6 separate regions of the Homo sapiens genome follow, and regions 1, 2, 4, 5 and 6 are each linked to region 3. The links are contacts of gene promoters, found by promoter capture Hi-C in blood cells and fetal thymus (Javierre and others, 2016). All regions are on one chromosome and are shown on one strand. Each heading gives the region's core, a stretch centred on a gene start or on the middle of the fragment in contact. The rest is flanking DNA. Distances are from core to core; before and after follow the strand shown.

What was found. Contacts are between HindIII fragments. The CHiCAGO score rates a contact against its expected background, and 5 or more counts as called.
Region 1: a fragment that was not itself captured here is called in contact with the fragment with the promoter of SNHG5 in region 3 in 3 of 17 cell types (non-activated CD4 T cells, total CD4 T cells and naive CD4 T cells); the score reaches 10.0 in non-activated CD4 T cells.
Region 2: a fragment that was not itself captured here is called in contact with the fragment with the promoter of SNHG5 in region 3 in 1 of 17 cell types (total CD4 T cells); the score reaches 6.0 in total CD4 T cells.
Region 4: a fragment that was not itself captured here is called in contact with the fragment with the promoter of SNHG5 in region 3 in 3 of 17 cell types (non-activated CD4 T cells, total CD8 T cells and naive CD4 T cells); the score reaches 12.5 in non-activated CD4 T cells.
Region 5: a fragment that was not itself captured here is called in contact with the fragment with the promoter of SNHG5 in region 3 in 2 of 17 cell types (fetal thymus and non-activated CD4 T cells); the score reaches 7.8 in fetal thymus.
Region 6: a contact is called between a fragment that was not itself captured here and the fragment with the promoter of SNHG5 in region 3, in 1 of 17 cell types (total CD4 T cells). The highest score is 5.7, in total CD4 T cells.

Annotation. Positions count from the first base shown.
Region 1 is chr6:96,927,490-96,931,549 of GRCh38, forward strand. All of the region lies in intron 1 of KLHL32 (kelch like family member 32), which reads left to right. Among named protein-coding and RNA genes, the nearest start is that of KLHL32, 4.8 kb to the left of the region's middle. The HindIII fragment of the contact is 4,655 bases long and covers 1-3,974 here.
Region 2 is chr6:99,400,962-99,404,530 of GRCh38, forward strand. PNISR (PNN interacting serine and arginine rich protein) reads right to left here. Exons shown (of 12, transcript NM_032870.4): 10 at 2,868-2,921; 11 at 1,579-1,749; 12 at 1-669. Among named protein-coding and RNA genes, the nearest start is that of COQ3, 8.6 kb to the left of the region's middle. RefSeq lists an enhancer at 1,034-2,233. The HindIII fragment of the contact is 265 bases long and covers 2,065-2,329 here.
Region 3 is chr6:85,676,545-85,680,300 of GRCh38, forward strand. SNHG5 (small nucleolar RNA host gene 5) reads right to left here and starts at 2,189. Exons shown (of 6, transcript NR_003038.2): 1 at 2,150-2,189; 2 at 1,592-1,644; 3 at 1,410-1,488; 4 at 1,251-1,331; 5 at 880-948; 6 at 463-647. SNORD50B (small nucleolar RNA, C/D box 50B) reads right to left here and starts at 1,115; the gene lies at 1,045-1,115. It overlaps SNORD50A (small nucleolar RNA, C/D box 50A), which reads right to left and starts at 824; the gene lies at 750-824. RefSeq lists enhancers at 1,770-1,829, 2,000-2,159. The HindIII fragment of the contact is 13,479 bases long and covers 2,032-3,756 here.
Region 4 is chr6:73,654,487-73,658,313 of GRCh38, forward strand. No RefSeq gene overlaps it. Among named protein-coding and RNA genes, the nearest start is that of SLC17A5, 2.4 kb to the left of the region's middle. RefSeq lists an enhancer at 621-710. The HindIII fragment of the contact is 2,167 bases long and covers 662-2,828 here.
Region 5 is chr6:73,515,381-73,519,341 of GRCh38, forward strand. EEF1A1 (eukaryotic translation elongation factor 1 alpha 1) reads right to left here. Exons shown (of 8, transcript NM_001402.6): 3 at 3,957-3,961; 4 at 3,552-3,848; 5 at 3,318-3,468; 6 at 2,974-3,230; 7 at 2,650-2,884; 8 at 370-2,554. The coding sequence ends at 2,430. Among named protein-coding and RNA genes, the nearest start is that of EEF1A1, 3.7 kb to the right of the region's middle. RefSeq lists a silencer at 1-240. The HindIII fragment of the contact is 197 bases long and covers 1,658-1,854 here.
Region 6 is chr6:96,524,439-96,528,342 of GRCh38, forward strand. UFL1 (UFM1 specific ligase 1) reads left to right here. Exons shown (of 19, transcript NM_015323.5): 4 at 859-956; 5 at 1,883-1,997. Among named protein-coding and RNA genes, the nearest start is that of UFL1, 4.6 kb to the left of the region's middle. The HindIII fragment of the contact is 1,951 bases long and covers 805-2,755 here.

The DNA of each region.
Region 1 (4,060 bases), core at 397-2,896, about 11 Mb after region 3:
AAGCTGCCATTTTCTCGTGTTTCTCCTAGAGCTACAGAGATGCTAGTGGACTTCACTGAAGTAGGTAAGTAGTCAGAGAGGAGTGTCATTTTATTTACATTGTCTCTTTGGTGGATCCAGAGAGGTGTAGTTAAAAGGAAAAGCCAAAAGATTTGAACAGCGACTTCTCATGGTTCTCTTATTCCAAAATCCCCCTCTGGAAAGATGCCTTAACAGTAAATAAAGCCATTTCAGTTTTCCTTTCATGGAAATATGTTGCACCTCTAGTAAGGAGCTATGCAGGTGTGTGTTAGTAATGTTCTAACAAAGTCCTGGCTGAGTGCATGGAGATACCGTCTCTGCCCTCAATGATTCAGAGCAAACACACTGCTCCTGGCAGCGTCCACTTTTCGAGCTCTTCTGTGAGCAAGCTACTTCCATATCGGCTTCACAATGACTCTATAAAGTGGGCATCTTATTTCCATTTTACAGATGGAGGATCTAAGACTGTGAAGTCCAATTGGAGCAATGAAAGAAATCTTGCAACTTCAGCTGCTCTTCTCTTTTCACATTCCTTCTTCTCAACTGTTACCTAATGCAGGTTATAGACATGTACATAATTGTGATTTTGAGGGAGTTATGTGTTAAATGTTACAATGGAAATATAAGATTCCATAGAAGCTCAGACACAGGGAAAAAATTTTAAATGTTCTGATTGTGGAGATCAGGTCAGTCCCTAGGTAGTAGGGGGATTAGTGCTGGAACTTGATGGCTGGGTATGATTATATTAAATGAAAATCCTTATAGCTATTGAAAGATGGGAGTCTCCACCAGACAGTCTGTTGGAAATGTGGGTTAAGAGGATGATGCTAGTGATACCTAATATTGATGAGCTTACTGTAGCTGAGCGAGTGATGAAAGCTGTGGAAGAACTATGGTCTGGAAGATGGAGTGCAGCAGAGGATGCAACTGCGGATGGGTGGGAGGGGATGGAGGAAGACAAATTTGGGAAGGAGACTAGGAGAGGAGTTGTAGCCATAGAGGAGAATCTGGAGAATGTAGTACTGATTCTTCTAAAGACTGAACATAAAGTCAAGGGACAAACCAAGTATTATATTCTCTATACAGAGACTGGCACACAATAAATACCCATAAACCATGATGATGTGTCTACATTTTTAATGTCTGATGGCTGGTATATAATTTCCTCTCATGATATCACTTTTCTATAGAAAAAGCATACACGTTTTATATGAATTCATTTGGAGTGGGTAAATATATGGATTTTCAAAAATGGGAAAAGATTCTGGCAAATTAGATGATAAAAGATGTAATCGTTTTTTTCTAGTAGAGTCATAGACTTGGAGGCTAAGGAGGCTCTTACAGATACAGATTTTAAGGTTGCATATACTTTTGATGAAGTCTTATATGTTTGGGACAAGTAAAGGAAAAATGTGGGCTGTAAACCATTTGAAAAGCTGTACTCAAATCTAGACAGAAGGCTTTGGTGACAGATAAATGTACTATAATCTTGATCCTGGTTGGGTCAATGTTTTTATTTATTACATCAGTAGAGATATGAAAGAAATGTGACAAGCAAGTGGGAGTTAGACTTGCATTTAACTACTAGATCTTCAGTGACTGGGTGGGAGAGCTACCTGTTAGAATGTTCAGCACAAGGTAACAGGATGAAATAAAATAGAAGGCGTCATAGCTAGAGTCTAGCACTGGGGATATTTGTCATGACAGGAATTTACTTTAAAGTTGGAGGGATTTTAATTCCTATCAAGTACAATATAAGCCAATATGATGATTTGCTCTTCACAGATATATTTGGCAAGTAATGGAAAATATTATGAAAAAATGATACTGTAAGGAGCCCATCTTTCTTAATAAGCAAGGGGCTTTTTGGTGACAGCAGAGATAGATGTGGCTATGTCTCTGTGCCAGGCAGTGTCTTACTTCCCTTCTCTGCCTATAAGACTGCTTATTATTTCAGAATTGTTTTCCAATTTGTAGAGCAGAACTTAAGAATTTATCCTAGAACATTTTACTTTCTCTGTTGTTGAGAATTAGTAAATAGAATTCATTTTGTTCACCTTTTTCCTGGCATTTCTAATCAGAACCTTCATTCCCAGGCCCTTCTTGTCAAGATCTTTACCTAAGAGGAGCTGAGCAATGTGAAATGCTCAACTTTCTTCATATTTCTTTTGTTCTTTCCCTATTTCGTATACACATTGCAATGCATTAATGTATTTAATTTAACTTGATTTTGACATATGGCACTATAAGTTTTGGTGAGATTTTTAAACGAACTATGTAGGAAAAAAAACAGTTTTGCAGACTTGACTTGGAGTCAGATTAGTTCCACATATGGCAGAAAGCATTGAAAGCTGTAAATTTGTCTAAAATAGCTTCTTCCCTTGCAAGGTTGGAGTCACCAACCTGATAAGATAATTTTTAAATGAAGAAGAAATGTCTTTGGCAGTTTTCATGGACTCTTGACAACATTTTCCTACATGTTTATTTGAGGCATAATGTATTCTACTTTCCATGCCAGATAAGCCAGTACCAGTTACTTAGAAGCAGGCTACCCCCTCCCTTCCCCACCCAGATGATACAACCCGTTTGTTATACAAGATATTGATGGAAAAAGAAGTCCCATCCTAGCTGATTGCTTCAGTGAGAACATATTTGATGCTAATGGCACAGACAATAGAGCAGTGGAGGAGGCATTTTGCAATTTTTTATGACACAAATTCTGATACCTCATTTAAAATCATTACTTAGAAACCTTATTATTTATGATTTTTAGTTCTACAATTGAAAGTGCAAGGTAGCATGGCACAACCAGAAGAACCTGAGCCTTGGAGCCTGGATTTGAATACTAAATCTGATACTTCTTGGTTCTGTGACTCACAGTCCAGTTACATATCCCCTCTAACTCTCATTTTCCTCATCTGTAAAATGGGAATTATGTTACCTAGATTATGGAGTTGTTTTAAGATTAAATAAGAAATGCATAGAAACATCTAGTACATTGTTGGTGTGTAATAAAATCTCAGTACTTATTAATTCCTTCCCTCTGCCTCCCCTTTCCCCACTCCTTTGCCTTCCTCAAAATGATGGTGGAATTCATTTAAATTTCCTGAGCCATATAAAATGTTTTAATCTGGTGTGCCGACCTTGGAGCAGAGCTACCCTCATTATGCTATGGAGCTTTTAGTGATGCAGTACGCTGCTTAGATGGGCTCTCCCAGGGAGAGGGATGCATAGCTTGGACTCAATGATGTCTTTTCTCTCTGACAAGCCACTGTTCCCTCTTTTATGCAGCTCCTGGAGCATCGGCCTGGTCACAAGGAAAAGGAGGGAGGGTCAGTCAGTTTCCTCCTACCCAGGCAGCTCTCTGGGCTCTATCATAGGATCTCTTCAGGGGTCCACATCTGCAAAAAGCACAGAGCTGCCCCTTGTGTTCTCTGTAGAATTAATAGTGGCAGCATCAAGTACCTGGCGGGTACAGACCTCCTAGCCTTTCTGCAAGGTCAATTTCTAGAGCCCACATCTTTCTTGACAACTAGAAGTTTCCCTTCATGCTGAATTATGTAAATTTTATGAAAAGGTCAAAAGCTCACCAGGATAAAAAACAAACAAACAAACAAAAAACACTCCTCAAATTCTCTTTCAAGTCAGATAGGATTAAAATCTTCCCGAACAGAATACTTTCTAGTTAAATCTATGTTTTTTTCTTTTTCTCTGCACCACGACCTCACTCATTCCCTGTTCCCACCAGCAACTCCTTCTTCTGTGTTGAAATATCATGTGGATTTCTGATGACCCAGGAGTGCACATGAGATTAGTATGGCCTGACTCTTTTCAAAGTCACCCCCCGGCTCATGGGCTTAAGAAGAACCTAGACAGCAGCAGGAACTGCTAGCAGCCTACCACATAGGAAGTTAGCCTGAGCAGTATATTGTAGGATCCCATAGACTGAGCTAAGCTTTGTTTTCATCATACAATGGATTATAAAGCCTGTCCTTAAATAAAATACTTTTTCTTGTGCTAAATGTGTTCTGCTTATACC
Region 2 (3,569 bases), core at 947-3,446, about 14 Mb after region 3:
TCCTCTCTTGTTCTTTAGCCTCACCTTTATGCTTATGACTGTTCCCACTAAGATTTCCACGTTGATCATCAATTTTACGCCTATCTCGACTCCTACTGCGACTGGCACGATTGGTTCGTCTATCCCTTGAGCGACTTCTACTTCTACGTCTCTCTCGGGAAGGACTCCGATTTCGTCGTCTTTCTCTTTCAATGCTATTTCTATTAGATCTCCTTCTATCTCTAATCTTTACCCTAGCCCTATTGCTCTCTATTTTAATTCTGCGAGAATAGCTTCTACTCCTGCTACGTCTAGCTTTGATTGTTGGAGATCTACTCCTACTGTGTCTCTTTTTCCTTTTAGGAGAAGAAGACCGAGAAGAAGTACGACTACTACCTGAGCTAGAACTGTATGAAGAGCTAGAGACAGTACTACTAGTACTACTAGTTCTGCTATTGCTACTGGAACTACCACTACTAGAACTTCCCGACCTACTCCTTCCTTGTTTTTCTTTTTCTTTATGCTCTTTTTTTGGTTCTAAAACTGATGTGGTTTCATTTGGAGTTCTCTTCTTTTCATTAACCACATCACCGTCTGCTTCTCTTGCTTCTAGTAGTGATAAACTATTTTGCTCTTTATGGATAAATTCATTCATCTCTTTTGTAACCCTTTCTGTTTGCTGCTTTTCTTCTGAAACAGAAAAAGACAAAAACACTAAGAAAATGTTCATGTAAAATTCTCATACTACCAAATGTCAAGCTACCAGACTGTAACAATAGAACACCATTTTCAATAGAATTACGATGCAAGCCATGTAAGTAATTCAAAATTTTTTAGTAACCACATTAAAAAAGTAAAAAGAAACAGGTAAAATAACCCAATATACCAAAAATATTATCATTTCAACACATAATAAATTTAAAAAAATTCTGTTCTCTTTTTCAAGTAAAGTTTTTGAAATCTAGCATGTAATTTATACCCACAGCACATGCCTAGCCACATTTCAAGTTCTCTATAGCTTGTAGTTAGTTACGTTACCCTCCTGGACAGTGTAGCAAAATACAGTATCAAGATGTAGAGGTGGGTGTGAGGCAAGTAGGAAAAGACTTCCCTTTTGTCCAACTAAAGCAAAATTTTAAAGGTAAGTAAGTGGTTTATAGAGAAGTCTTAGCTGCTAACTCTTAATTACCTTAGATTTTTCAAAGAAGAAATTCTAAGTAAATTTTCTCTTTTGTTATTCCTAGTATTAGGTAAAGTATCTTAAGTAAAAAACTTCTAGGTTCTCTATTATCCTTATATATCCTAGCTACAAATTACTTTTCAATAGTCTTACAAATATATTTTTCCCATTTCAAAAGTCATCTTTTTCATTTCAAGACTTTTAGCAAGAAATAAAAATACCCTAAATAGCTTGGCTTATAGCCACTGCAATAAATGGCTCCTAAAACAACCAAACAAAAATTGTGACTTTAGTTTCAGTTATATCACATATTATTTATAATATAGCCTTTATTTTATCCTTTGATATTTTTAGGTTAGTTAAAAAATAAAAAGAAATACAAAACTGGACCAAAATTAAGTCTAAAAGGTATACTACACCTTCCATCTGTTTATCATGTAATAGCTGCTGTTCTTTTTCTTTTCTCCAAAAAGCTTCCTGTTTTTGCCGGATTCGATGCCGTAATTCTTCATCATCAGTGTCAGATGACTCAGATCCTCTGTCACTCCTCTCATCTTCACTGTCTCCTGATCCATAACCACCCAGTCCACCTGTGTGCATAAAGCTCAGTCTATCATATGAAAAAAATTATACTATGCACTAAAAACTTTTCAAGGTCTGAGAAGAAAGTTCATTTCTTTTTTCATTGCCTTTTCCCAGAAGAATACGCTTATTCGGGGTGGGGAGAAGTATACATTCAAACGCTTAAGGAGTTCACAGAACCTTCAGGCAAAGGTTACTTAATATCTTATTCTTTCTGGACTATTTCATATTTTTCTCACTGTAAAGGAATGATAATGGGTTTGCTGTACTGTCCATACTAACCAACAAAACTACTTAACAGGGCAGTAACAAAGCCACGCTAAAGCTTAATGATGACCCTGAAAGTATTTCTAAAATTAACTTTTATTGTTCAAAGTTTAGAAATCCCTAGAGCTAAGCAATTTTTCCCTAAAAAAATTAGAATACTATAATCTCCCTGGTACAGAAATATTATGGTGCTGAAAATACTCCCCACCCTGAAATGATCTAAATAACCATAACAAAACCACATGGGCATTTGGTTCTACCCACTTCTCTGGGTCCTCACAAAAATTAATTTGAAATGAAGATGTGGAAAAGGCAAATTCAAGCTTTTACAGCCTTGATAATATACCATGCAAATAGTAAATTATGAACACATCACTACTATTTTACTATGATAAGATAAACCCTTTCCTCTATATTAAAACTTGACTTGCCGCAACACAATCTATGTAAGTTATTAAAAGCATTAGTGGATAGGTTCTTCCCTAAGGCATGTATGCAATAATTCTGAAAGTGAGCTTAGATACTATCATGGCTAAATTATGAATTATTAAGTACAAACTATAGGTGTTCATATATAATTATATATATATAAAATGCATATATTGGAGCAATAAGGAAATCTTCCAATATAACCTGCCCCAATAAACTATGAATTAACCATCACATTTATAAATTTCTCACTGTGAATGCGTTAGTCAAAAAAATAGGCAAACCTTTTTAGACAGGATGACATAACCCTAAGACCTAGGTTTTTATAAACTGAGTAGGACTAATACAGTTTCAAAATAGAACACGCAGAGAGACAATGTATGTGTGATTTTTCCCTTTAGGCCCTCTCACAAATATGGAAAACACTTACCGAGTCCAGTGAGGGAAGCCAGTGCACTGGACTGTGCCAGCTGTTTTGCAGGAGCTTTGTATCACATCAACAACAGGAACAACATGTTAACACAAATAGCCACGATTTCATAGTCATGAGTCTATGGTATTGTTAAATCTACTACTATTGCTGCTTTTTGGGGAGAGAAGAAACATTAAAAACATAACATTCATTTTAAACCAGTATCATGTCTGGCTTTGAAATTATAACTCTGATGTGAGCTGAAATTGGTTTATAATGAGAAAAAATGTTGACAGGTATATCTGTATGTCTACTTCTGAGATTATGACATGTAACTTAATTTTTGTTTTCAATACATTTTTAAGGTGTTACTAAAAATCTAGGGGTAGGAAATCACTTGCTTCTGTAAGAGATAAGTGGTAAACTAAAAATTGTAGGTAGATAATTCAAAATTCATTAGTCAAAATAAACTGTATCAGAAGTCACACAACAATGCCATGTTATCTATTAAAAAAAATCAGGTGAAATAAACTGAACACCTGGAATTTTCCACAATACATTTTAGAGGAAAACAGCATGATTGCTAATTTGTACTCATGTAGGTCAGATAAAACAAAAATATTTGTATAGCTTTAATATGGTGTCTACGAATCTAATCTTTAAGAGTTAAAACATGCAAGAGAATATTCAAATATCTGGTAGAAATCCAACAAGGACAAC
Region 3 (3,756 bases), core at 939-3,438:
AATGCTTTCAACTGCCATCTTACACACACTACCTTCATAGTGAAGGTACATTTTCTATCTCCAAACGTTACATGCCTAAGGCTTCTCTCTCATTTTATTTGGTAGTATCAGATAGCATTATGTAACCCATCCTGCCAAATGACCTCTTCCTAGATTTTAGCAAGCCTGAATGTCTTTACCAGATTGTTTTATCAGTAACCTTCCCTCATGACCATACTTAATAAACTGCTATTATTATTCTATTGTGCTCCTTATTTTCTGTATCTCATTCCCCCATTTCTCAACTTAAGCATCCAGGCTTTCAAAATTATAGTTACATCAAAACTAAATATTCCATGATTTGCTTAGTAACAATTACTTCTAATTCCTGTCTCTCCACTCTTACACTGATCCAAAAACCCTTACATTGTACCCTGCACAAACCCGAAACATTCACTCACAGTAATTTGATTACAAGGCTGGTTAGTGGATTTTCCATTTAATGCTCCCCATGTTATTTCAGGACCTATTTAAAAGTAATAACAAAAAGGAACATAATCCAAAATTACATGTTTTATTTTCATGTTTGTAAAACGAAGAGCTTTTTTCTGGATGGTTTTCTTATCAGCTTTTCACACAACAGTCAAGTAAACCTCGTGGCACTAGCCCTAGAAAAGGAAAAACACGAGATTCTTACAAGACTACAAACATTACAACATATGTAAAAGCATTAAAAGTATTAAAAAAAAATATTGTCCTTATAACGGTCCATCTCAGAAGCCAGATCCGTAAAAGTTTTTTTTTTTCAACAGAAGTTCAGGTTCGGGATAAGATCATCACAGATAAGACCAAGGACACAATATTCACTGATCTCTAAGCAAACAGAAAAACTCCACTTACAGAAATCGTTGCAACTTTGGAACTTCCAAGACAATCTGGCCTCTATCAATGGGCAGACAGCGACCCTCACTGTTGGCAGAAAAAAAAAAAACCCAGGATTTTATAACACAACTGTTATAAAATCACGGCAACAAAATTTACTCCACCTCTGAATTACTGGTCTTAATCTCAGAAGCCGAATCCGTACTTATTTTTCTTCAGGTTATCAGCTTCGGGATAGGTTTCATCATTGATTAGACCAATCAGACCTTGTATATGTACACATAATACATTAAACTGCACTTCTGTGACACTGACTACAAACCAAGGTAATGCTAAAAGGCAAGTATTATAGTACAAATACTACAGAACTTTTAAGCCATACAACCTACTTCAAAATGAAGCTGCTAGTCAGTCACATTCGACATTCATTATCTTCACTGGCTACTCGTCCACACTCAGAACGCTGTTCACTGACAAAAAAAATTTGATTTAGTCTAGGTGTGGATTAAATGCTATGCTCAATCATAAAGTACTAAAACAACACATACCTGTTAAAAGTGTCAGGTTTTAACCAAGCGATTTTCCATTAAATATTCTCCCAGATGTTCTGGAAGTTTTTTCGTGTATCTAACAAAAAAAAGTAAATTTCAAACGATGCAACAGTTCCTATTCCTGTAAATCAACAGGTTTACTCCTTTAGTTTGGAAACTAAGCTTAACTAAGCTCTTACCTTTGCATCTTCAGAGCTGCTCCACTGTGCCACTGAAGACAGCGCCATTGTTCCTGCGGGAAATCGGTATTTAAGCATTCTCGCAGAAATGTCACACTCCAAGGCGTTTTTCCACACAAAACCCTTCCCCTTCATTAATCCGAATTGCACACAACGCCGCCTTCGAACAGCTCAGTTTCAATACAGGGTCGAGGCTTCCCATTTTAAAACAACGCCGACGGAAGGCCTTCGCCATTTTAGTAAAGGCCCTTTGCTGTTAAAACTAACCCTCCGCCCCAATTAAGGTGGTTTTTCCGCCGCCGCTCAGGCACATGCCGGAGGCCAGCAAGTTCGGCGCCCGTGGCCGATCAGCGGTTCCTCACGCCAAAACTCGGAGCCTGTGGCCGTCACGACTCAACCTCAGTACATGTGGCAGTCCGGCCGCACGTTTCCCACGTGCAAGCTTTCAACTCTCAGCACTCTAAACTCTTCACTAAGATGTCTTCACAGGATTAAAGCTCTTAACTCGGCCTGCGCCACCATCTTTTGCTCGGATACTAGCCCGCAATACCCACTCACCTACCACCCGCCCAGACGCTCGCGAAGGCCGACGTAAAAGACCGAAGTGCGCAGCCAGTAGCTCCTTATATAGCCTCCCGGAGTCAGAACGAGGCCGTCCCGCCCTCTCGCACCTATTGGACATGGAAGTAGACAGGGGTGTGGTCGCGAATTAGCGGGAGCGCGCGCGGTGGCTCTTCTGAGGCCCGTTCCGCGTTGTGGAGCGCGCCGCAGGCCGGCCGCGCGCCCGGCCATTTCCCGGCGCGCGCCCGCAGGCGCACTGCGAAGCGTCTCTTACGAGTCTGGCGGCCGACTTGGCCCTACGTGGCGCGGGTGTGGCGCCAGAATTCAAACAGCTGCAGTTGGAAACGACGCTTTCGCCTGCCACGAGCCAAGTCCGTCCAGGACAGATTGGGTCCGAGAGTGGACACAAGTTTTGCAGCGCAGGGCGGCCTCAGCTTAGGACCGATTCGAGAAGCTGGGCTGGCTGGCTGGCTGGCGCTGGGCTGTAGTGGGCCCCCAGCGGAGGCCGCCGGAGGAGCGGGCGAGCCCTGGCCGCAGCACTCCGGGAAAGGGCAGTTGGCTGGCAGAAACGCTTGGGTGAAAAAGCGGAAAGCGCCACGTGAGAACAGCCCCGGCGTGCGGCCCTGCAGGGCCTCAGGGCGGGCATCAAGGCCCCATGGGGATCCATTCCTCCTCACGCTTCCTCGTGCCAGGCATCCGGTTACACTAAACGTGACCATACAAGTCTCCCTCAAACAGCGAACGTGAGGTTCAATACTCCATTTCGCAGAGGAGAAAACTGAGGCTTAAAACAGCCAGGTAATTTGCCTAAGGTCACACAGCTGAAATGCTTTGCTAATTTTTAACTTCTTTGTACTCAATTAGTTATATTGAAAACGAGAGAAAGATTAATTTGAGAAGTATCCCTGAATACTTTATCCAGACGACAAACACAAAATTCAAAAGCAGTGCTTTGATTAATTAGCATGTTCGAGTGAATATGTCTGCGTGTGTGTGTGTGCACACGACATTTGAACATTTCAGTATTTGAAAATTCAGGTCGTTCTTCACTTCTATATTTCAAAGCACTACTTATTAAAGTTGTTTATGTGTGCATTTGATTACGGTCCGATTCTGCTAGAGTGTGGGAGCAACACATCTGATTTCGTGCTCTGCTGTTTATTTTTTCTTAGAACAGTGCCTAGCATTAAGTAGGTTGTCGGTAATGGTTAAATGAATGAATGAATGAACAAATACATTCGGTGGCTTTTTAGAAAATTAGAATGAAGATCAAACTTCACATTCAAAGATAGTAGTGAAAAGCACTTTTCTCTAACAGGAACCTATATGATGAAGTATTGACTGGGCCGGGCATTTTGTCGGTTTTTGTATTACTTTGTAATGTCTTACATAAATTTGCATATTGCTCATAGTAAATAGTAAAACAAACAATACAGTACAAAAGGATATAAGAAGCAAAGTAGGCCGGGTGTGGTGGCTTATGTCTGTAATTAGAGCACTTTTGGAGGCTGAGGTGGGAGGATTGAGCCCAAGACCCTGTCTCTATTGTATTAAAAAAATTTTTAAAAAGAGTTAACAAAAAAAGCAAAGTGAAAGTATCTTTC
Region 4 (3,827 bases), core at 495-2,994, about 12 Mb before region 3:
TTTTTTTTTTTTTTTTTTCTCCCAGGCAGGGTCTTGCTCTGTTGCCCAAGCTGGAATGCAGTGGCGCAATCGCAGCTCACTGCAACCTCCAACTCCTGGACTCAAGCGATTCTCTTCAGCTCCCCCAAGTAGCTGGGACTACAGGAGCATGCCACCACATCTGGCTAATTTTGTTTCTACTTTTTATTTTTGTAGAGGCTTGGTCTTATTATATTGCCCAAGCTGGTTTCGAACTCCTGGGCTCAAGCAATCCTCCTCGGCCTCCCAAAGTGCTGGGATTACAGGCGTGAGCCACTGCTCCTGGTCCTAAAATAGCTTTTAGGCGGAAAAACAGCAATGGAAATTTGTTGAGTCCTATGATGTTGCTGGTTTTATAGGTAAAAGTAATCAACATAGGTAGTTTCATATGGTTCGACCTATGGAATCCTCTGATGTATGTGTGCATGCTTTATCTCCACGATAGAATTTGGATAGATTGTGCTAGCATTTGCGGACTCTGAAAGTGAAACTAGGAAAACCCAGCTTGCCTTGGCAGGGCAGATCTGGATCCGCCAATAAAGGCTGTCTCTGTGGAGGTAGAAAATAAGATGTAGATGCTCTCGGAGAGTTTGGTGTAGACAGGGAAGACCCACAAGCCACTAATTCAGTAAACCAGGTTAGAAGCTTAGTGAGGTTCACGTGAGAACAAAGGGGAGGGTCCTTTACCTAGAAGGGAGGGCGAGGATTTCTGTAGGCATCCCTACCTCCAGATCAGTAAATGCTAGAAAAGTTCTCAAGTTAAAGCAGCAAATCAAGCCTTGTTTCTGAGTTACTGAATTACCATGTAGATTTTTACACTCTCTAAGGGTTGTAGAAAAATGCAATTTTCAAACTGGATTATGCAGAGTCACCTGGCAAATCCTTTTAAAATGTAGATTCAGATTCAGCAGATCTGGTGTGATGGTTAATTTTATGTGTTAACTTGCTGGTTGTCTTTGGATGAGGTTAACACTAAAATCATTGAACTCTGGGTAAAGATGGCTGCCTTCCATAATCTGGGTGGGCTTCCTTCAATCAGTTGAAGGCCTATCTAGAATAAAAAATCCGACTCCCCCACTTCTCTTGCCCAAGCAAGGGAGACTTCTCCAGCAGAGTGTCCTCAGACTTCATCTGCACCACAGGTCCTCCTGGGTCTCCAGGCATGTGCACCATCATCTGTTTTGGGTCGAGTTGGCCAGCCTATATTGTGAAAGCCAAAACTTTATTACCCAAACTACCCAATTGGGGCTGTTTCTCTGAGAAGCCCAGTACATCTGGGATGTGCCTGAGATTCTGTATTGCTAACAAGCTCCCAGATGACCAAGGTTATAGATAACTTGGGCCAGGGAATATAGTTGCAACAGACTTGAAAGACTTCAAACCAGAGGAATTCTTTTTTTTAATATTTTTTATTTTAGAAATTTTAGGTTTACATAAACGTTGCAAAGATAGTACAGTGAGTTCTCCATACCCTTTGCTTAGTTTGACCTATTATTAAGATCTTACATTAGTATCATGCATATATCATAACTAACGAGCCAGTATAGATAATTATTAACTGAAGTTCATACTTAATTTGCGTTTCTTTAATTTTTACCTAATATCCTTTTTCGGTCCCAGGATCTCATCCAGGATGCCACATTACATGTCTCCTTAGGCTCCTCTAGATCGACAGTTCCTGACTTTCATTGCTTTTGCTGACCTTGACAGTTTTGTAGAGTACTGGTAGGTTTTGTAGAAAGTGTCTTAATTTGGGTTGTCGAATTTTTTTTTGAGACGAGGTCACGCTCTGTCGTCCAGGCTAGAGTGCAGTGGCACGATCTCGGCTCACTGCAGCCTCCACCTCCCAGGTTCAAGCGATTCTCCTGCCTCAACGTCCCGAGTAGCTGGGACTATAGGTGCATGCCACCACGCCCGGCTAATTTTTTGTATTTTTAGTAGAGATGGGGTTTCACCATGTTAGCCAGGATGGTCTCCATCTCCTGACCTCCTGCCTCAGCCTCCACCTGCCTCAGCCTCCCAAAGTGCTGGGATTACAGGCATGAACCACCACCCCCGGCCTGAATGTTTTTCTTATAATTAGACTGGGGTTATGGATTTTTGAGGGAAAGGTCATAGAGGTAAAGGGCCATTCTCATCATGTAATGTCAAGGGAATGTGCTGTCAACTTATTTATCACTGATGTTTATCAGTAGTGATGGTAAGCCTCATTGCATGCCTGAGGTTGTGTTTGTCAGGTGTTTTCACTGTGAAGTTAACTCTTTTCCCCCGGCCTTACTTTTCTCTTTGGAAGGAAATCAGTATGTGCAGCCTTCACTTAAGGGGTGGGGAGTTATCTATACTCCACCAGTTTCAGGGGAAGAATTCTTTTGTTTGGGAGATTTGTTTATTCTCCTACATTTATTTACTTATTCAATCATTTATTTTTATTAGTATGATGTCATGGTTATTATTTTATACTTTGGGTTATACTCCCAACACTATGTTATTTATTTTGTTGCTCAAATTGTTCCAGCTTTGGTGACTAAGAGCTCTTTCAGTTGGCTCTTGTGTCTTGCATGCCTCCATTGTTGTGTTTTTTGAGCATTCCCTTACTTTCTGGTACAACAAGATGTTCCAGGCTCATCTTGTGTATTCTCTACCCCTGCCATTTCTATAAGGAGAATGATATTACAAACTAACATCTGAGCATTGGGTGTACTTCTTCCTATTGCAGTGTCATTGATTCTAGGTTCAGAGGAGGTACTTTGGTTTTTGTTTTTATAATCTTCCCAAGAAGATTTTGAGACAGGATCTTACTCTGTCACCTAAGCTTGAGTGCAGAGGTGTGATCACGGCTCCCTGTAGGCTCCACCTCCTGGGCTCAAGTGATCCTCCTACCTCAGCCTCCCTGGTAGCTGAGACCACAGGCATGTGCCACCACGCCCTGCTAATTTAAAAACATTTTTGTTAGAGACAGGGCCTCCCTGTGACGCCCAGGCTGGGCTCAAGCAGTCCTCCTGCCTTGACCTTCCAAAGTATTGATATGATAGGTGTGAACCACTGTGCCTGGCCCCAAGAAGATTAAAAAAAAGTATGATGACACATTTTTTCCCCCTTATATCTGGCATTTATTTCCTGATTGCACACTACCATAAAAGATCATTGTTGGTGTTATTTATTTATTATTATTATTATTTTGAGACAGAGTTTCACTCTTGTTGCTCAGGCTGGAGTGCAGTGGTGCAATCTCAGTTCACTGCAACCTCCTGGGTTCAAGCGATTCTCCTGCCTTAGCCTCCGGAGTAGCTGGGATTACAGGCGCCCACCACCATGCCCGGCTAATTTTTTGTATTTTTAGTAGAGATAGGATTTCACCATGTTGGCCAGGCTGGTCTTGAACTCCTGACCTCCGGTGATCCAACCATCTCGGCCTCCCAAAGTGTTGGGATTACAGGCGTGAGCCACCATGCCCAGCCTATTTTTTTTTTCTCCTTTCCTGGTCTTTTTTTTTTTTTTTTCTTACATGGTTTGTTTGAATCTGGATCCATTCATGTTCAGACCTCACATACCGTAGACATCTCTCACATGTCTTTATGTTTTCTCCTTGCAATTTCTTCCTTTTTCTTTTCTTTTCTTTCTTTCTTTCTCTTTCTTTCTTTCTTTCTTTTTCTTTCTGTCTCTCTCTCTCTTTCTTTCTTTCTCTCTCTCTCTTTCTTTCTGTCTCTCTCTCTCTCTCTCTTTCTTTCTTTTTTTTTTTATGGAGTTTCGCTCTTGTTGCCCAGGCTGGAGTGCAGTGGCACGATCTTGGCTCAGTGGAACCTCCACCT
Region 5 (3,961 bases), core at 506-3,005, about 12 Mb before region 3:
AGGCCCTGGCACATCTGAGATTTAAAAGATAAATATCAGATTAACTGGGAAAGATACAGTACAGGCAGATCACTTGAGCCCAGGAGTTGACCAGCCTTGGCAACATGGCAAAATACAAAAATTAGCCAGGCGTGGTGGCAAAAACCTGTGGTCCCTGCTATTCAGGGAAGATCACTTAAGCCCAGAAGTCAGGACTGCAGTTAGCCGTTAACTTCCACTCCAACCAGGGCAGGAGTAAAACCCTGTCTAAACAAAAAAAGCCAAGCACTACCTTGAAATCAACTGAAGTTAGCTCTCACTTTTGAAATCCACTCCAAAATTTGTAACCAATTCCAACATAGTAACTGTTAAAAGAAATGCCACTTCATCTTAAAGCTTAAAATTCATTTATTGTAGTGAGCAAGTTTGTAATGAATACCAGCAGGTGGTGCTCAAGCCACAGTTGTCTAAGACACTGGGTTTCACAGGAAGTTAATCTCAATCTCAGTATATGCAAGTAAACTGACTCATTCCTGCTTCCAGTGGGAACAATTTTTCAGTTAAATCTTGCTTCCTTGCATGTCAAGAATTCTCTACTGGTAAATCTTACAGGTGTCAACTTTCATTATCAGGGCATCTATTGGCCATCTATTAAAGGCCTTACCTGTTTTTTCTGTCATCCAGCAAATCTTAGACTATTTACTTGTGTAAACATTAGATAGCAAAGAAACTAAGGACAAAAATCTCTAGTTCAATTTAGACTTGATACCTCAGAGCACTGGCTGATGGGAAGGCATTTTATCTAATTCAGACTCAGATGAGGGAAAACGATAACACTTCATTACAGACTTGTCTATGGCCAATTCAAGTACCTTTGAATCTTGAGCAATACACATTGCCAGTCACTTTAAGAGGCCTTATCTCTTGGGCTGCTTTAACTCCTGCTTAGCATGTCCTTAAGAACACATGTCCTGGCCAGGCATGGTGGCTCATGCCTGTAATTCCAGCACTTTAGGAGGCCGAGGCGATCACCTAAGGTCAGGAGTTTGAGACCAGCCTGACCAACATGGAAAAACCTCATCTCTATTAAAAACACCAAATTAGCACATGCCTGTAATCCCAGCTACTTGGGAGGCTGAAGTAGGAGAATTGCTTGAACCCAGGAGGAGGAGATTGCAGTGAGATTTTGCCATTGCATTCTAGCCTGGGCAACAAGAACTCCATCTTAAAAAAAATTTTTAAAAACCATCACACAAACAGAAAGCATGTCCTTTAATTTTACCTATCCTTCAAACTTAAGCAAAAATTTTCCTTTTATAACCAAAAAAAAACCTTTAGACACTTTTACATATGGGAGGTCAGGCACAGTGGCTCATGCCTGTAATCCCAGCAGGAAGATCGCGAAAAGCATTTTTCAAATGCACAAATGCTTAAAGATTCAGGAGTAAGTGGGCTATTACACCTGTTAAGCCTATTACCATGTAGTTTCATTCCTAGTGACCAAGTAGACAAACTGCTAATTATCAAAGCATAAAAGGTATTAGACTCTGCAGGAGAAAAGCAATGTAGATTAGTCTAATTTTATAGCTACTTCAAATTGCCATCTTTTTCTATTAGAACCTTGTTCCTATTCTGAATAGCACTCAATAGAACTTGTGAAACCATCAAACTGGCATAAAGCTTACTCCACTGACTTCAAAATGGACCCTTCCACTCATAGGGTGTACACTAGCCACTACACTTATTTCTTATGTCATGGCAAATAGTCAACTTTCACTGCCCAGTCATTTTAACCCACGTTTCAACATGCACATCCCAGTAATTTGGAAACATTTTGTTTCCAAAGATTCACTTAACATTGGTTTAGCAACATGAAGCTTTCTATGCAACACAAGGACTCAGTTTTTGGCCTGTTTTAGTGACAGGCAATCAGCAACATGCTGCATTTCTCTCCAGTGTTGTAATCAAAGCAACCCTCCCATAGCTTTAAATGATATTCCTTCCCCTTCCAATTATGTGGGGGGAAAACAACCCTATTCTCCACCCAGAAGTGTTAACTCAAGAATTACATTTTCAAGAAGTTTCCAGATTCGTAAAACCAGAATTAGATGTCTTTCACCTAAATGTCTCGGTGTTGACCAAAGGAACACACAGGTTTCTCATTTAACTTTTTTAATGGGTCTCAAAATTCTGTGACAAATTTTTGGTCAAGTTGTTTCCATTAAAAAGTACTGATTTTAAAAACTAATAACTTAAAACTGCCACACGCAAAAAAGAAAACCAAAGTGGTCCACAAAACATTCTCCTTTCCTTCTGAAGGTTTTACGATGCATTGTTATCATTAACCAGTCTTTTACTACTAAACTTAAATGGCCAATTGAAACAAACAGTTCTGAGACCGTTCTTCCACCACTGATTAAGAGTGGGGTGGCAGGTATTAGGGATAATATTCATTTAGCCTTCTGAGCTTTCTGGGCAGACTTGGTGACCTTGCCAGCTCCAGCAGCCTTCTTGTCCACTGCTTTGATGACACCCACCGCAACTGTCTGTCTCATATCACGAACAGCAAAGCGACCTATTAAAAAAAAAGTTAATTATTACCCAAAGTACTGTTCAGTTGTATTTTTCATCTTTAACACAACTTTTTTACATTTAAGTAGTCATCCTTACCCAAAGGTGGATAGTCTGAGAAGCTCTCAACACACATGGGCTTGCCAGGAACCATATCAACAATGGCAGCATCACCAGACTTCAAGAATTTAGGGCCATCTTCCAGCTTTTTACCAGAACGGCGATCAATCTTTTCCTTCAGCTCAGCAAACTTGCATGCAATGTGAGCCGTGTGGCAATCCAATACAGGGGCATAGCCGGCGCTTATTTGGCCTGGATGGTTCAGGATAATCACCTTGGAAAAAAGATTTGCATTCAGTGCAAATCCAAAGTCTCAAATGACTTTAGCCTCTGCAATAAGTTAATGTTACTTTAAATTGTTACCTGAGCAGTGAAGCCAGCTGCTTCCATTGGTGGGTCATTTTTGCTGTCACCAGCAACGTTGCCACGACGAACATCCTTGACAGACACATTCTTGACATTGAAGCCCACATTGTCCCCAGGAAGAGCTTCACTCAAAGCTTCATGGTGCATTTCGACAGATTTTACTTCCGTTGTAACGTTGACTGGAGCAAAGGTGACCACCATACCGGGTTTGAGAACACCAGTCTCCACTCGGCCAACAGGAACAGTACCAATACCTAAAAATATTTACAGCATACTAAATACCTATGAAGGCAGACAGTACTCTATCAACTCAAATTCAACTTTGTTTACAGCCAACTTACCACCAATTTTGTAGACATCCTGGAGAGGCAGGCGCAAGGGCTTGTCAGTTGGACGAGTTGGTGGTAGGATGCAGTCCAGAGCCTCAAGCAGCGTGGTTCCACTGGCATTGCCATCCTTACGGGTGACTTTCCATCCCTTGAACCAAGGCATCTGAAACACAAGCATGCCAATTTGTGTAAGCATGAAATCGCCATTCCCAGAGCTTTTTAACAATGGTCTTGAAAGCCACTTACGTTAGCACTTGGCTCCAGCATGTTGTCACCATTCCAACCAGAAATTGGCACAAATGCTACTGTGTCGGGGTTGTAGCCAATTTTCTTAATGTAAGTGCTGACTTCCTTAACAATTTCCTCATATCTCTTCTGGCTGTAGGGTGGCTCAGTGGAATCCATTTTGTTAACACCGACAATTAGTTGTTTCACACCCAGTGTGTAAGCCAGAAGGGCATGCTCTCGGGTCTGCCCATTCTTGGAGATACCAGCTTCAAATTCACCAACACCAGCAGCAACAATCAGGACAGCACAGTCAGCCTTTAAAGAAAGCAAAGACATATCCCTGTCAACTCTCCAAATGACAAAACCAGTGTACAAAGCAAGCCTTTTGGGATAAAGAAACCTAGAATTATTAATCCCACCAACCTGAG
Region 6 (3,904 bases), core at 530-3,029, about 11 Mb after region 3:
TTTACTTTCTCAATTTTTTGATACTGTGAATTTGTTCAAGTATTCACTAATGCTGGTATCATATTTTGTGTAGTGTTTATAAAGAAATAGTTATATAAGCCTCGCTGATACACTGAATTGATTTAACAAGTTCTGATACATTAAAATGATTTAATAAATTCGGATTTATTGAAATGATTTAATAAGTTGGCCTTATTAAAGAGTTGGCCAACTCTTCCCTAGTTGGCTTTCTTATTCTTAACTTTTTACCAAATGAACTCATAGTTATTTTATGTAAGTATAGAGTTTATGTCATTTTGGGAGAAAAGTCACCAGTTTCATGTTTATATGTTTTTAGTATATGAAAGTAATAGAGAAACATTTTTAAAAGTAGAAGCTATTTTCAAAATATACAAATATATATGTCATTACCAAGGTACACTATAAACAAGAAGCCAGCGAATTTTCTGTAAAATGCTATCTGTTATATGAATATGTAATTTACTGCTTTATATAAACTTACTAGCAAGTGACAGTTTAATTCTTCAGAACTGAAAATAACTAAGCAATACACCTCTAATTTTTTATTTGGCCAATGCTTTTCGTATTATTTCAGATTGATTCAAAATTTAAGAATAAGCAATTTCTTTCTTTCTTTTTTTTTTTTTGAGATGGGAGTCTCCCTATGTTGCCCAGGCTGGTCTCAAACTCTTGAACTGAAGGGATCCTCCCGCCTCATCCTCCCAAAGTGCTGGAATCCAGGCATGAGCCACCATGCCTGGCCGGCAATTTCTTTAAAAATATAGTTCTAAGTATATAATTTCAAGCTTAAGAAACAATACAAACTAATCATTAATAGATTTTGTATTTGTTTTCCAGGTAATTAATGTGGACCTGATTCATATTGAAAATAGAATTGGTGACATTATTAAATCAGAAAAGCATGTTCAGTTAGTGTTGGGACAACTGATAGATGAGTAAGTACAATAAAGTACAAATTTAAGAGCACTTTGTTTATTTTCTTTCTTTTTTTTATAGTGTTTAAATTTAGGCCAATTATGGCCAGTTAGACATTTCATTTATAACTCTTACAGTGTTGATTTTCATGATAAGGTTTATTTCACTTAAAAAGTAAGTGTTTAAGCCACATATGGTGGCATGTACCTGTAATCCCAGCTACTCAGAAGGCTGAGGCTGGAGGATTGCTTGACCAGGAATTTGAGACCAGCCTACGTAACATAGCAAAGATCCTGTCTCAAATTAAAAAAAAAAAAAAAAAAATTCAGTGTTAATGTATGGAATACTTAGAAATAATATAAACTTCTATTTTTTTCTTAATAAGAAAACGTAAAACGTAACTTTTACGTTCCTTCCCGTATAATCTTAACTCTGAAAGCAAATTTGTTCCAAAAATGTTAATGAAAATCAAATACAAATTTCCACTTAAAAAAATCCCAGCATGCCAGCCTGGGCAACATGGCAAAACCCATTTCACTAATTAAGTTTGCTAATTAAAAAATTAGCCAAATGTGGTGGCTCGCACCTGTAGTCCCAGCTACTCAGGAGGCTGAGGTAGGAGGATTGCTTGATCCCAGGAGGTCAAGGCCACAGTGAGCCATAATCATGCCATTGCACTCCAGCCTGGGTGACAGAGTGAGACCTTGATGCAAAAAAAAAAAAGAAAAAGAAAAAGAAAATGTATTGTTTGATTAATCTTACATTTAGCTACACTAATGAGAAAAAAGTATTTGTTAGAATATGAGTGATGAGTGGTGTTCATGTACACACACATTTCATTACTTTTGGGGCATACTTCATTTCAACGGAAATTAAACATAAAATGAGGAAACAGAAAAAACATTCCTAATTCTTTTTTCTATTATTTTCTTGTTTTCACTATTAGGAATTATTTGGATCGGTTGGCAGAAGAGGTCAATGATAAATTGCAAGAAAGTGGTCAGGTCACCATATCAGAACTGTGTAAAACTTATGATCTTCCTGGGAACTTTCTGACACAGGTATTTTTTTTCCTAATAATACAATGTGTCTTTTTACCAAAGGATTTTAAACGAAGACTTTGAATGGAAGGGGGAAAAAAAAATGAGACTTCCTCACCATCATTTGATTTATTGCAGGTGTCTGACTTGATATATGTTGTACCAATATATTTGGGGGGTACTTCTAGTACATTAATGGTTCTGAGGAGGCAGTTTAAAAATGATTGTAATCATCCTAAACCAAGAGACACCCTAAAACTAATTTATAGACTAAGTTCTAGGGCTGCTTTGATGCAATTAGCAAATGTACAATAAATGCATGGATTTATTTAATGCTTTTGATACCAGCTATATAGAAACTGTAACCAGACAATTAAATTTCTGATTGCCCAGTTAAATTTTAAGAAATAATTGATGAAGATAATTTATAGGGGGTACTACTGGCTTCTTGTGAGTAAAGGTCAAGGATGCTGCTAAACATCCTACAATGTACAGAACATCCTGCCAACAAAGAATTTTTTTGTTCCAACTGTCAGTAATGCCAACATCTTTTGACTTCACCATTTATCCTCTTCTAAACAGTCAGTATGATAGGAAGAAGAACCAAGGAATCTGACATTCTCTTAACTTTAGGTATTTGTGTCAGTACTCAAATATCTTATGTGTGATAACAATGCTGCCTGAAAACATAGGCTATTTTCTTGTTTACTTTTTTCTGTTTTTTTTTGTTTGTTTTTTTAGAATCATAGAAATTCATTTGGTAGAGTGGAAAGGACATAAGCTTTTGAGATTTTTAAAAGACCTTGATTTGAATACTGTCTGCACCACTTATTTGACATCAGGAAAATCATTTCATCTCTTTTATGCTTCACATTATGTATCTGTAAAACAGGAAATATTGTCTTTTTTATAGGCTTCATTGAAATCTAGTGAAATATCTTAACACAATGGAGAAACTAAATAATGCTAGTTCTTTTTATATTTACTGAAACAAGGGAGAAGCCAAATCTCTCTTTAGGTATCTATCACTTTAAGAAACTCCAACTTGCAAAATTGGCCAAACCGTAATTGCATGAGATTAATGTATAATACAAGCAGATTTACTTACTCATATTAAGAAAATGAGCTTCCCTAATTCCATTTAAAATACCATTTATAGTATAGATCTGTTTTATGTAGTATTTCAGGAGCTGAAATTATATTTTACATGGGCAAACATATGTTAATCACAGGACAAAAAATATATTTTTAAAATACTTCTTTAAAGTATCCAGCTCAAATCCAAATGATTTCTTATAAAACTGTTTCTGAATACATTTTAGAAACGTAGTTTTTAATATGTTTCAGTTCCATTCTGAATATAGCAGTATTCTAAAAGCTCATTAAGTTTGAAAAAAACATTTTTCTATATCATAAAAATAATGAGCTGAGCTGACTTGAGTAGATTTAACTTATCTTAAAATGTGAAATATGTCCAGACTTATTTCAGATGTACCTGATGCCAGTCGTAGTATAGCTGTGGAGAAATACTCTGCTGAACTTGAAAGAAGGTTACCAAGAAGTCAGATTATCTGCCATAGATCTTCTGGACGGGGATAAATTTGCATTAGAGAGGAAAGCTTTTGAGGTCTTATGTTTCCCTATGTTGCAGAATCTGGAATAACATTTATACTTTTAGTATTAGAAGCTCCAGAAAGGGTCTTCTCCAATACCCATTTGTATGTCTTGGCTCTCTATATATTGGAGGCTGCCTATATCTAGAAACCATCATATCAAATAATCATCATATTGATAGTCATTTTTATGTTAGAAATAGCCCTCATTAACAAGAGATAATATGACAGCTCAACCTTTTAACATGTAAGCAAGCAATTTGACTCATTTCTTGGCTCTGCCATGAGATAGTGAACTTTGCTAGACACTGAATC